Regions from separate parts of the Homo sapiens genome. Here all the other regions are linked to region 1. The links are contacts of gene promoters, found by promoter capture Hi-C in blood cells and fetal thymus (Javierre and others, 2016). All regions are on one chromosome and are shown on one strand. The core of a region is centred on a gene start or on the middle of the fragment in contact, and the rest is flanking DNA. Distances in the headings are between cores, read along the strand shown. Region 1 holds the start of PEAK1 (pseudopodium enriched atypical kinase 1). Region 2 overlaps PEAK1 (pseudopodium enriched atypical kinase 1). Region 3 overlaps PSTPIP1 (proline-serine-threonine phosphatase interacting protein 1).

What was found. Contacts are between HindIII fragments. The CHiCAGO score rates a contact against its expected background, and 5 or more counts as called.
Region 2: a fragment that was not itself captured here is called in contact with the fragment with the promoter of PEAK1 in region 1 in 2 of 17 cell types (M0 macrophages and total B cells); the score reaches 5.7 in M0 macrophages.
Region 3: a fragment that was not itself captured here is called in contact with the fragment with the promoter of PEAK1 in region 1 in 5 of 17 cell types (neutrophils, naive CD8 T cells, naive CD4 T cells and 2 more); the score reaches 9.6 in neutrophils.

Annotation. Positions count from the first base shown.
Region 1 is chr15:77,417,910-77,422,267 of GRCh38, reverse strand. It overlaps PEAK1 (pseudopodium enriched atypical kinase 1), which reads left to right and starts at 2,164. Exons shown (of 10, transcript NM_001385026.1): 1 at 2,164-2,262. It overlaps HMG20A (high mobility group 20A), which reads right to left and starts at 1,380. Exons shown (of 10, transcript NM_001304504.2): 1 at 1,264-1,380. RefSeq lists enhancers at 879-928, 1,319-1,368 and silencers at 1,819-2,138, 2,389-2,558, 2,569-2,778. The HindIII fragment of the contact is 8,449 bases long and covers 107-4,358 here.
Region 2 is chr15:77,117,468-77,122,178 of GRCh38, reverse strand. All of the region lies in intron 9 of PEAK1 (pseudopodium enriched atypical kinase 1), which reads left to right. Among named protein-coding and RNA genes, the nearest start is that of TSPAN3, 49 kb to the right of the region's middle. The HindIII fragment of the contact is 1,124 bases long and covers 1,954-3,077 here.
Region 3 is chr15:77,000,030-77,004,821 of GRCh38, reverse strand. All of the region lies in intron 1 of PSTPIP1 (proline-serine-threonine phosphatase interacting protein 1), which reads right to left. Among named protein-coding and RNA genes, the nearest start is that of PSTPIP1, 7.3 kb to the right of the region's middle. The HindIII fragment of the contact is 8,762 bases long and covers 1-4,792 here.

The DNA of each region.
Region 1 (4,358 bases), core at 915-3,414:
AGTACACAGGCCTTATTACTTCAAAAATTCTTGCAAGACAATACAGTTCTAGGTTCACTGATATATATACTAAAATTACTAACATTCAGATTTCACAAAGTAAGCTTCAAATAGATTGATTCCTTCAATACACAGACACACACCCTTCTAAGTATTGTGTTATCTGACAACAGAACCAAGGAATCAAAATTATTGAGTGTTTATTACCGCCTCACATATAGTTTATTAAAAATGAGCTACTGAAAACCAGAAAGTTCTTATTGACCTTTTGTCCTTTGTGAGCCAACTTTTTCCTGTTTAGAATCTGAGCTGAGTCTCATGACCCTTGCTTTATACTTTAAAACCACAAAGAACAGATACCATTTAAAAATCAGTGATGAATTAAATTACAAAGGAGGAAAATGTAATAAAATACAACTTTCAAAAATGTTACGTGTAAGCTACACATAAGAATTTTTAAGGCTGAAGAAGCTGTTCTCAGGCACAGGGCAAAACCTGTAGCCCAAAATCAACAGTCCTAATAATTTAAGATGTCAATTTTATCAGTTAAGGTAACCTCAAATTTGAGTACTTCAGTGTGATACTTTCATTCTGCTAAGATGAAAATGCCCCAGATTTTATGTAAAATATTCAGTCCCCTAAATAAAAAGTTATCTCCTTAAAAGAGAAGCTAGATTTCCTGTTGCATGTCAAGGCAGAGGGCACCACACTTCACCCAGCCAAGGCTGGACTTGAGTAGGGGTGCAGGTGTTGGCAATTCATCAGTCACACAAGCTATGTCGTCTTGCAAAGGTGCATAGAGATTTTTAACAAGGGCTTTCGAATTCTTTGAAGAAAACACAGACAATTTTGCTGGGGAGGAAATGCTCCATATTCCACGTGGAAGCAAACTCATAAATTCTGACTGCAGGTTGGTGTTCAGCACAACTTGGAATAATCTAACTTTTCACATAAAACACAATCCCCAAGCTGCAAGATAATGTCTCCGCGAATGGCACCAAGCACCACCTTTTCAAGCCCTCATCAGCACTGGAAGTGGGTCGGACACCCCCAAACCATCACCACCCCCCCACAGGAAGTGAGGGTGTCCCCCCTCCCCAGGACGGCCTTCCTCCCCTCCCCCAACCGGAAGTTGAGGCGCCCCCATTCAGCCGGCCTCCAACTGAGACAAACCAGTACCACCACCACCAAAAGAGGGGTGATCTTCAAGGGGTGAAGGGCATCTCGACTGGGGCCACCCCCAAGCTCGCCTTGCTTACTGACCTGCTGACGACAGGGGCAGGAAGGGGCCTAGGGCCAAAAGAAAGTCCCTTCCACAGAGGACAATTCCCTCAGCCCCTCTCAATCGCCTTCACTTCACGCACTCGTCGTCTCACAGCTGGACAAAAATTCTTCCGCAGCACTTTATTTTGGTGTCCTTTCCTTTTCTTTACCTAATCTCTTAACCACCTTTCCACAGGTAACTCCTCTTACCGCATAGCATTTACAATTGCTCCGGTGAGAAGAAAAATGAAATATTTTCCACGGTACCTTCACAAAAATGAAGGGATTATTTTGCCCCAATGCGGCGAAGGACTACGTGGTTACGCAAGGTGAGCCTTATTTTCGTGGAGGTTTCTGGGAGATGTAGTTTTTTTTTTTTTATTGCGAAGGCCCGCAGAAAGTAGAAGAACTGAAATTGGTCATGACTACATATTAGCGTCCTCGAAAACATATTCTGTATTCGATGACGGCTGACCTAGCGGGCCCCGACGCCCAAATGGGCCCAGACTCCCCTGGTCTTTTCCTCTGCGGCTTAATCGAACCCAAATTTTCCCTCACGCGGGCCCAAGGTCTCGGCAGCCCCGCCCCTTGTCTTAGCCCCGCCCTCCGCAGCCAATCAGGCACCCTTTAGGTCTCGTCCTCTGGAGGTTGGAAGGCAGAGAGGAGGGGCCTGGCGGTGACTCCTCCCGCTGGGGCTGAGGGAGACCTGGGAGACGACCGGGGCCCGTGAGCGCGCGCGTGCTCACGGCTCCAGGAGCGCGGCGAGCGGGCGAGGGCGCGCGCGGAGGGGCGGCGCGCGGGGCCGAGAGGAGGCGGGCAGGCTGGTGGGCTGGGCGGGCGGCGAGCGGCCGGGAGCGCGCGGTGGACTCGGCCGCGGCGAGTAGTTAGTTAGTTGTTGTTAGTCAGTGTCAGTTGCTCGGCGGCGGCGGCCGTGGTCACCAGGAAGGGGACGGGACGGACGGTGATGGTGGTCGCCGCGGCGGCGTGTGCGCCCCTCAGGTAACAGCGGCCCGGCTGTCCGCGTCCGCTCGGTTGTCTTCTACTCACGCGCCGTCTGTGGGACCAGGGTTGCCGCGGGTTGAGGGCGCTGACCCGGGGGAATCCGGGCGGGGCGGCGCGGGTTCTGGGTGGCGGCGCGGGTTCTGGGTGGCGCCGCCGCCGGGGCTCTGGCGGCCGGTGCGTCCCGCCCGGCGCGGGCTCTAGCTCCCCGGCCACCCCCGCGCCCCGCCGGTGCCGCGCGCCCCCTGCCGCCCCTGCCCCCTCCCTCGGCGGCGGCCCCGGGAGCGCGACGCCCCCCAGAGGAAGGAAAGTTGGGACCTGCCGCGAGGGACGCCCCCGGGCGCGGCTGGGAGGTTGCGGGGGAAAGTGAAGCCTGGAGGAGCTGGACGCGGGGAGGCCGGGGCAGGAGGGGCTTCTCTGGCTCCTGCCGGGTCCACACGGTCAGCCCGCTCCCGCACCCGGGAGCATCGGCGCAGCCTCGCCGGCAGCGTCGGGACGGAGCCGGGTGGCTCCCTGCCTGCTCCCTTCGCGCCGCGGCTGGGGAGCCCGCGAACGTGTGGGCTGGCGGGGTCGTTTGGGGGTTGTGAGTGGTTCGGCTGCTCAGTTTTTTTCTTTTCTGCCCTTTGACCCATCCGTTCTTGCAACTTTTCTTTCCTCCTTCGATGGGGACTTGCCGTCTGAACCGCGTCTGCCCCCTCCCCTCTCGTCGCATGCACCATCCGTCTGGGAGCTTGATTTCGTTTTTTCCTCCTTTGGCTACGTTAAAGATTGCTGAGAGCACCGGGAGAGACCCTCCTCCCCCGCCTGCCTCTGGCCTGTTAAATGTTACTTTTTGCGATTCGTTGTTTTTTAAAGATCCAAGTTCAGGAATTTGAGAGCTGTGGAATGGAGTTATTGGAAGGCTGACGTTGAGGGGGTAGTGATGAGTTAGAGGAAAACTATGATTTCATCTTTATTGGCCTTGCTATAGAAAACCTAATTGATTTTTTTTCTGCCTCTGTTGAATGTGGTAAGATCATACGTTGAATTAAATACTTAGAGACTTACATAAAAGACTATTTTTAGGTCATTGGATGATGTACGTGAACAGCTTTTCACCTGAATTGGGATTGCCTTGAGGATTCTGTTTTGGGGCCTACTTACTGATTTTTGTTCAGCCACAGCGTCTTTTTTTTTCCCCCGATAAATGAAGTGATGTAGTGATGTGTATAGTCAGAGAACCCATATTGCTCTCTGCAGTGTGGAAGTGAAAAACGTGAATTATCCACCGGGGTAAAACTTTCCATGAGCAATCTTGGATACTCACTTCATGATGGCTTCTCTCGTAATCTCAGAGCATTTCTAGATAGCTCAATTCACTGACGACCCTAATTACTTTCTGACTTGCCTGGGACTTCTCTTTGGTGACTTATTTAGTAAACTGTAATGGCAGATATGGTACATTTTCTTGGCTTCAAAGTTGAGGGTTATAGCCTCAGCCCAGAGATGAACAATGGAAGTAGAAGTCATAGCATTGCTAGTGAATTTTGGATATGACCAACTCACAAACTATGTGAAAAAACAAACATCCCCTTTTCATTGCTGTCGGGGGGGAAAGGGAAATATTTTATCATGTCTTTATTTTGGATTCTCTAACATGACTACATTATGTGGGAAAAAATGTCAAATTATTTTCTTTAAGGCTTTTTAATGTATGTTCCTTCTTTTCCCTCACTACCCCCCATCTCCTGTCCCAACTTAGAGGCTAAAATTTATGTGTGGCTGTGTTCTAGGGTTGGAAGAGAAGTGTTTTGGTGAAAGAAAAAGATAAGATCACTTTGAACTATTATGATACCTCAACTATTCGTTTTATCCAGTTGATAGTATACAGAAACTTTCACAATAATGTTTGTAGCCTATTAACATTCAAAATTCATTTTTAAGAGTCTACCCTGAAGGCCCATGAAGAAATAATGCCACTTCATAACTGTTTGCCGACAATCACATTAAAAAATATGTTCCTGGAATGCATTATACGTGTACTCATATAAACATTTATCTTTGTACATTTATGGTAATGTAAATATTTAAGTCTGAGAGCTTAAAAACTTTTATTT
Region 2 (4,711 bases), core at 1,266-3,765, 300 kb after region 1:
GGAGTCCTGAGTACTTTGGGCCCACACAGCGTTTTATATATTAAACACTTAATCTATTTTGAATATAGTTGTAACAGCATTGAGTGTGTGTGGGTCTTAGCTCTGTAGCAGCAAGTATAGCAATACTCCTCCTAGGCAGATCAAGGAATTGAGGTCAATCACTGATCAGCCTGTATTCTTAGAGTGGGATTATACCAAATACTGGATATCAATTTAGAAGTTGCAGGGTTTCATTCTATGCTCACTCCCATTTGCAGTTGTACTTTTGTGTGATATGACAAAATGGCACAGATGGTGTAATGTGTATGATTGTTAATGTTTCTCATTTTTGTCCCTCCACAATTCATTCCCTATAGCATCCATCTCACTTAAGGTTCACTGAGGCACTATAGAATGCATAGAGTGAGATGGAAATGAGATTCCCTGCTGATAAACTGGAAGTAGGCTGAAGGCATACTGGGCCCATAATGGAAAAATCAGAGCTAATGTAGAATATTTTTGAAGAGTCTTATATTTTGTAATTATTGCTTTCTTTGGGGCAAAGGAGAGAAAATTGAATCGAATGACAGAGAGCCATGTTGTTTTGTAGTTTTGTGCAGTACAAAATCAGCAAGCCCCCAGGGCAGCCTGGACTCAACAGACAGCCCTCACTGATCAGATTTCACTCATTTGTGTAGTCAGGTCATTCATGAGTGTTTATTATTCAGGTTTATCTGCCGTTGCCCCCACCCCATCACCTTGCCAACTTTTATCTGTTTCATAAAAGCTGTTCATATATTCTACCTGTTCCGAGTAAATAAGCCCTATGGCAGCACTGGATCAGATGCTGCCTTTTCTCAGAATCTTTTACAGACATATGGAGCAAGTACTACGTGCCTTGCTCTGTGCTAGGCCCTAAAGATACAAGTATCTGCTTGTAAGATAGACAAAAAAATGTCAGAGGAGGGAGGAAAGGGGACAAGGGTTGCAAAACTGTTGGGTACTGTGTTCAGTACCTGGGTGATGGGATCAGTTGTACCTCAAACCTCAGCATCATGAGATATACCCAGGTAGCAAACCTGCACATGTACCCCCTGAATCTAAAATAAAATTGAAAAAAATTATAAAAAACAAAAATTTTTTAAAGATAAAAAATGTGATAACTGCAATAATAGAGATATGTACAAGATATAGAAGTAACACAGAAAGGGGGTTTAGGGTATTTAGCACTTCCTCTCTCTGATAAAGTAATGCCTGAGAAGGGCTTTAAAAGAAGTAGGAATCCCTCAGGCAGATGAGGGGTGACAAGGAGCCCCAAACTGAGAGAACACCTGGAGGGTAGAGTGGGTGGCCGGCTGCAGATAGCTCAATATAGTAAGAGCAAATGGAACACAGGTGGGAAGTAGGACTGGAAAGGGAGGCAAGGCCAGGACTTTCTCCTATGAGGATAAAGCGGAGCCGCTAGGAAATTTAAATAAGGAGGAAATACCAGCTGTTGTTTTTTAATGGCTCTGTAGCCATGTGGAAGATGTATTCGAGGGGATCACATTAGAGGCAGGCAGACCAGTTGGAAAGCTTTTGTGGTTGTCCAGGCAAGTGATGAAGGTAGCAATAGAGATGGAGAAAAGAGGATAATTTGAAAGTTATTTAGAAGAAAAGTCAATGAGAGTTGATAATTAATTAGCCATAGGGAGTGAAGATGCAGGAGAAATCCAAAGTGAATTTGGTTTCTCATCCAGGTAACAAAGCCATTCATCAAGAGAGGGAGTACTGGGAAAGCAGTGAGTTTGGTGGGACGGAGAGTTCAGGTTTGGTTATGTTGAGTTTAAGTAATCTATGGGTTAGGACATATATGGGAAGAAATCAAGTAGGTCATTGTATAGATGAGCCTAAAGCCCAAAGACAAGGGTGCGTTACAAATGTAGACACGGAAGTCAGTAGTGTATATGACATGGTTGAAGCTATGAGCAAGCTTGCGGAAGAGAGTTTGTCAATGAAAAACTAGGATGGAGAGCAGGCACTCCAAACACCAGCACTTCACGGAACCTTTGGGAAAAAGGGTCAATGAAGAAGAATGAGTAACACCATGCCATTCAACGACAGATTAATTCCATAGTCATATCATCCAGTTTTGCACAGGTCCACCTTTCCCCCTATCCCTCTGACTTAGTTGCCTTAAACAGAGTATCTGTTGTTGAGAGAGCATCAAGAGGTATGTCCTCTCACAGGTCCCAGGCTTTGTGATCATTCTGAAAGGTTCAGTAGTGTTAGACAGCACTATCTTCTCCCCAGCTATTTTTAATGGGACTTTACAGTCAAAGCCCCTGATGGTCTACTTTTTAGAAGTTAGCTCTCTAGGTTGAAGTTATTACAAACATAAATGCTTTTTAATGACAAATTTGCCTTAAAGGTATGCAGGGCAGTTGTCATGAGCAACATGGAAAATGAGCCCCTGAACTGAAATGTATGTTTGGAATTAAACTTTTCAGGTTGTGCATGATGAATCATTTTCAAGCTCTGTTTCCCTGCTAAGATTGTAAATGTTGGGTTCTTTGACCCGAGTCTGAGAAGGTCTCAGGAGAGGGTAATTTGGCTATGATTCTGGAAGACAATATGTTGTTTCCCCTCTCCCCCAGTTTTCCAACAGATGATTTATCAGTGGTTAAAGGGTCCCCACCCTCTGTATTTAGGAATCTGGTCAGAATGCTTCAGGATGCTGTGTCTTACAGATGGGAAGTGCTCAGGAGCCATGAGATACTTGTTTGAATGATCAATTGATAATGAATTAATATTTTTCCCTTCTCTGTCCTCACTGATCTTTATTAACCCAGACAAGCAGCCAGTTTCCCTTCAAGCCTCTGTTTTTGCAACTGTAGGTTATTCATGTTGGTGCATATGTATATACCAGCTGACTGGCTGTCCCTTTTGATGTTCCTCTGACTCCTTTGGAGAATAGCTCAAGCGGGCATTTCCTGTGAGCTGGCAAGTGGGCGAGGGTCACTGTGCCCAGGATGGGCTTCTCTTCCTGTCTGTGCTCTTCACACGAGGAGTTCCCTTGGCATGCATTTGGTATTGCCAGCATCATAGAAGCAAAAGCTTATCCAGAAAGAGGCCCTATGGTGTATTTTACAAGAAGATTCAACCTTCAGCAGCCTGGTTTTGTTCTCCTGCTGCACAGTTTATAAGTAAATGACTCCTGGATATTGATATTGCAGCTCCCTCTAGTGTCACTGTGGCTCAGGCTCTCATAGCATTTTTTCTTGCCTTTCAGAAAATATAGACAGCACAGAATCTGCCAAATTCACAGCATTTTAAGTAGATTTTCCCAAACATAGCCAAGGCAAATATGAGGTGATTTTTCCCCTATTAGAAAAGGGAATGTTTAATGAAGATGTAGGACCATTCCAGTTCTAGTTTATTTTTATTCCTATTTTTAAATTTTGGGGGTCCTAGGAGGAGTCCTGAAGTAATCATTTATAGATTAAAGAGTAGCTGGCATGAACAAGTAGAATCTTTCTTGAGATTCCTCCTGCTACTCTTGAGATGCCAGCTACTCTTTATAAAGAAGGAATGTGAATTCTTTTCAAGAAAGATAATGAGAGCCAAGAAGAAGTTACTTTAATCCCTGGTAGAGAAAATACTGGGTAAGGGCAGAAGGAAAAAATTTGACAGGAAGAACCCTATCCATTTGTTCTGAAAAATTGGTTTGTTTTCTGAAATAACTTTTGAACTAGAAATTTGTTATCTGAAGTCAGGTCATTTTGAGGTTTTTTTTTTAACTAAAGGAGTTATTAATATTTGAAAAATGGCTACAATGTGGTACCTAGAATAATATAATACTCCTACCTAAATTAACATCATTGCAGGCTCCATAATAAAGATTTATGAGATACCCATCAAGCAAAATCCTATTATGGAAATCTCCATTGGTCTGTGTTTGGGTTGTAACTGTTTTCAGGGTTATGAACCAAGTAAAATCACTCTTTTTCCCTCCTCTTTTACACTCTAGTCTTCTCCCTTTTGCCTTTGCTCTTAAAGCTAGAGTGACTCATTATTCTTCAACCTGTCTATGTATTATAAAATGAAGAGATAAGGAAGTGCTGCCCACTCAGGTTATCTATCTAGGGAGACCATTTTCCTTTAGAGCATCCAAAATCGTGAAACAATTTATCATTTCTTCTTCGTAAATCACTTTGATCCTTTATCTCAAGTAGATCTGTGAAGCTAAACATAAATTCTTATTGTAGTATCCACATTCTTGTCTACTCACAAAGCTCTGGAGGACCTTATAAAAATGTGTGTGTCTGTGTGAATGTCTAGATATAATTAGAATATCACAATTAAAATACGAGTCACAATTAGAATACCTTCTCTGCTTCTAATATTAAACTACAAGGTCACAGTTTTTTTTTTCAGCCTGACTTGACATAGTTAAAAACTAGACTTGGCCAAACAATTCTCTCTCATAGCTTTAGGTTGCCCTGTCTTGGATTCTAACATACTGCTGGTGTTAACTTGTTTGTCAGGGCTGACCCTGGCTTGGAGGTATTGAATGTTAGCAGTTTCTTTTTGTCTGTCCTCTATCAAATTTGTGATCAGAGAGCCTCACTGCTGTGGCAGGTGGCTGTCGGGACTCAAAATAAAGATCTATTTTTCTGTTTTGCTCATTGTTTCAAAAAATTAGGATTCTCTAAGATTGCATTAGTTTGACATTTGCAAGTTGTTAACTGCT
Region 3 (4,792 bases), core at 1,416-3,915, 420 kb after region 1:
TGGTGCGATCATACAGTCACTACAGTTTCCAACTCCTGGGCTCAAGTGACCCTTCCACTCCAGCTTCCCAAGTAGCTGAGACTACAGGTGTGCACCACCAGGTACAGCTAATTTTTGTACTTTTTTTTTTTTTTAAGAAGTGGTTTCACCATGTTGCCCAGACTGGTCTTGAACTCCTGGGTTCAAGTGATCTTCCCACCTCAGCCTCCCAAAGTGCTGGGATTACAGGTGTGAGCCACCACGCCTGGCCACTGTTCTATTTCTTACCTTATCTCCAACTACTCTCCACCTTGGTCACTCTCTCTAGCCACGCAGGCATGCTCTTGCCTCAGCCCATCACCCCCTGACTTCCTCCCCAGTGTGGCTGTTTCCCGTTCCTGTTTCCACAGCTGGGAAGCCCTGAGTTCCATCTGGCCACCACATCCCCACACTGGCTGCTGGTCTCCAGGGCTCCAGCTGGCACTTCCTGTTGCCCAATGGTGGGTGGCCTGTCAACACCAGTGGAAGGAGCTGTCGCTCTCCTGCCTGTTCCATCACCCATTGCTCAGTGTGCCAGGCCTCAGCAAACCAACACACCCTCCCATTAACTGCAAAGGGCTCTCTGACCCAGACCTGGGAAGGTGGCATCCAGGCCCAGCCCAGTCCGATCCATCTGTGTGGCATCCCCCAGGCCCACATTCCTTCCAAGAGGCTCAGTTTCCTCTCTGTAAAACAGGAATAAGAATACTGACCTCACAGGACTATTGTTGGAATTAAGTGAGATAACATAGATCATCTTGTTACTTGAAACCAAAGGAATGATTCTCTAATGGTGGAGTATAACATGCAATGGTGAACATGATTGGAGGAGGCATTCTGAAACAGCAAGATCTATGTATAAGGCTCACCCTATGGGTGCATATCCAATTATAAATCTGGGTCCCCTGGGAACTGTTCCTGGTCTGCTACTCCACTGTGGTGAGCAGGAGGTGGTCCCTTAGCACTGCCCTGAGCCGCCCCAACCTCAAAGCCCTTATCTTAAGTGATGACGACCCTGACATCCTGCAGATGAGGAAACTGAGGTTCAGAAAGGGAAAATGATTCTCCAAGGCCACCTAGCAAGTGTGGGTGAGGGTTGGGTGAGGCTTCAAAGAAGCCCGCTTCCTTCTTCTTCTTTTTTTTTTTTTGAGACGGAGTTTCGTTCTTTTGCCCAGGCTGGAGTGCAATTGTGAAACCTCAGCTCACTGCAACCTCCACCTCCTGGGTTCAAGCGATTCTCCTGCCTCAGCCTCCTGAGTAGCTGGGATTACAGGCATGCGCCACCATGCCCCGCTAATTTTTTTGTAGTTTTAGTAGAGACAGGGTTTCACCATGGTGGCCAGGCTGGTCTCGAACCCCTGACCTCAGATGATCCACCCGCCTCGGCCTCCCAAGAAGCCGATTTCCTTCTAAGCCTGGAGGATGGAGCATGACTGAGTCTGTGAGGGAGGAACCTTCCAGAGCCAACCCAGAGGAGAGTCCTGGTGTGGGCAGCCCAGGGCCCAGGGCATCATGCTCTCTAGCTGGAAGCAGAGGCAGTCTTGGTTTCCACCCAAAGTTCCCTCCATCATGTGGTTTGCAGCGTCAGCCAGGCTCTGGGTGAGGAGGAAGGGCATCCCACTCACAGCCCGCAGCCTCTGTCCTCTTTTGCATGAGAGGAAACAGCCACCACCAGAGAGGGTGCAGAGAGGCAGAAGAAAGTATCTCTGCCACCACTTAGGGCAGAGACCTTTCACAATCCAGCTCGTGCCTTCCCTTCCTACCAGTCACCTTGCACAATGCTCTGGGCCAGAAAACTGTCTTCCAAACCCCCTTCCACACCTTTGCCCATGCCGTACCTCCCACCTTGAGTGCCGTTTGTCCTCCTGACATGTCTCAAATCCTCACCCACCCTTCAAAGCCCAAAGCAAGGCCCTCCTTCTCCATCCCAGGGGCTGCCCTAGTTCTGTGTAGATGTCAGGAGCAGCCAGGAAAAGCATGTGGGTTCCAGGGGACTGGAGCACAAAGTGGGTCATCAAGAAGCAGATCTTGTTTTTTATCAAGAATAAAATTGAATTCAGAACACCAAATCGACCCAGAACCCTGCAGCCAGCAAATCCTGGCAGTGACCATCTGCAGGCATCGCAAAAGCAAAGCAAGCATGACCACAAACCTCTGCAATCTTCTAACACCTGAGCAGCCGGCCACGTCCTGTGGAATGGGCACAGATGAACGAAGTTCTTGGTCCCCAGAGGCCCACGTACCACAAAATATGCACCGAGCATGTGGAAAAGGGCATGCTAGCAAACCACAAATTTGGCCTAGAAACACCAACTCATTCTTGAAAGCAGGAATTGCTTAGTTTTCTTTTTAAATATTTTCTTTTTAATGACAAAGGTACTCTGTATTGACTTGCAGAAAATTAGATGGGGGATGGAGAGAATCCTACTTCCAAATCCATAGACACCAGTGTTAACATGTAGGGAAGCATCCTTTCATCCTACACAAATTAAAGTAGAAGCAAGAACAAACTCTCTAGAATTCAGGGCAGAGGGCAATAGAGTTCGACAGACCTAGGTGGGAGTCCCTGCTCTACCCTGCACAGGTGACCCTCGTCTGGGCCTAGACCTGCCGTGCCTTAGGTCCCATCACAGAGTCAGGAAGACACTGACAATGCGTTTGGGGGCATGTGGACTGAATGGCAGCATGCCTGGCATGGAACAGGCACTCAGCAAATGGCAGCATTGCTGCTCCTCAGGGGATGATGTAAGTAGCTGGGATTCAGGGAAAAATTCTTCATGGGACTTGAAATAAATGTCCTCTTTTTCATTTTTAATTGTTTGATTTAATTTTTGAATAATTAATACATTCATATGGTTCAAAAATCAAACAGTATAAAAACATCAATCCTGAAAACGTTCACAGCCGCTCAGCCTCATCCCTCATCCATCTCCTTTCTCTCATTCTCCCAACAGGCAACCACTTTAATTAGCTCCCTGTGCATCCGTCCACAGATTTTTGTTGTTAATACTACAAGCCTGCGCCAGTATAAATGCTTATTTCCCCACTTTTCACAACGGGTTGCCGACCAGGTGCACTGCCAGGCTCTCTGCTTTTTACAGGGAACACCAGGTCTTAAAGAGCTTTCCCAATCAGGAAAGGGAGAGCCTCCGTCCTCACTGCTTCTGACAGATGCAGCCAGGCAGGTGCCGGGAAGGTACTTGGTGGCAGCAAAGGCAGGATGGCCAGGGCCTCTCTCTCCCACCTCCTGCACTGTCTGCAAGCTCTGAGTGCACCAGGGCCACTCCTCAGCCACTGGCCTCCTTGGCCCTCAAAGCCACAGCAGTTTGCTGGGCTGCAAGGCCTTCCACAAAGTCAGTGCAGGCTCTGGTTTCCAGCAGGGCCCCATCCACAGGCCCTGACCCTTCCAGGCCATTCTGGGGTCCCTCCTTCCTGTGTGAAAAAGCTCCTGCCCAACCAGAGGACTATGGGGGATCCCAAAGTGACTGCTAGTACCCATGGCTGGAGAACTGGCCCCACTCTTTCACCCAGAAATGCCTCCTTCCCTGGAAAATAGCCATTAGCCTCCTCTGCCCAAAGAAATAATCCCCAAGTGAAAAACCTTTATAGTCAAAGATCTACCCATGGTGTCACTGTCCAGAATAATAAATAATTGGCAGTAACCTAAATGTTCAGCAGTGGAGGACTGGGCAAAAAAAATCACAGCATGGTCACCAAATTCACAAGCTAGAGAACTGTGCAGCCATGAACAGTGGTGTTGCTGAAAATGAGGAACCCATGTCCACACCCACAGGTGTTCCCGATGGAGTGAGTTACGCTAAAAAAAGGGGAGGGTGGCAAAGTGTGAACAAACCTAGCGCTACTGAACCATACACCACAAAAATGGTTAAGATGGTACATTTTATGTGTATTTCGCTACAATTTAAAATAAAATTTAAAATACTAGAAAAAAAAAGGAGGGAGGGCCGTGCATGGTGGCTCACGCCTGTAATCCCAGCACTCTGGAAGCCAAGGCAGGAGGATTGCTTGAGCCCAAGAGTTTGAGACCAGCCTGGGCAACACAGGGAGACCTCATCTCTGCAAAAATAAAAAATTTGTAAAAGAAAGGGAAAATACAAAATTATGTACACAATATGCTTGCACCTATGTAAGGCAATCTTATGCAAACACAGCATAATATTAGCAGTTGTGTGATGAGACTAAAGGTGCTTCTTCTTTTCCTATTTTTCTCCATTTCCCCACTTTCCTTTTAGGATCTTATATTAGTTGATTTTGTTTCTTTAGAAAGTGTGTGTGTGTATGTGTGTGTGTGTGTGTGTGTGTGTGTATATATATATATATATCTCTCTTTAAATGCCCAGGATGGAACAGGTGCCCAGCAAATGTCAGGCTCTCCTGATGCCCCTGGGCCATGGTAGACAGGTCTGGGGGTAGGGACAGGCAGCTTTATGACAGATCAGAGTAGGGCCCCTCAGTCCCCTTCTCTGTAGCCTCATAAATGGGCACCTCAGCATCTCAGAACTGGGAAGGGAAAAGGCACCAGTGGCTGAGTGCCACATAGGGAAGGGGCAGACCAGCCCAGCTGGTCCCACTGTGTGAAGCTGGTGAGTCACTGCCCCACTCGGCAGCGGTGCTGTCACCTGTTAAATGGGCTTGGGGAGGCTCAGCTCCTCCCAGTGTGGCACAGGGGTTTCTAGATAGAGCCAGAGCCCAGCCTCAAAGGAGAGATACACCCACATGTCAAGGGGAAAGTTCAGGCCTATTGTCCCCATAC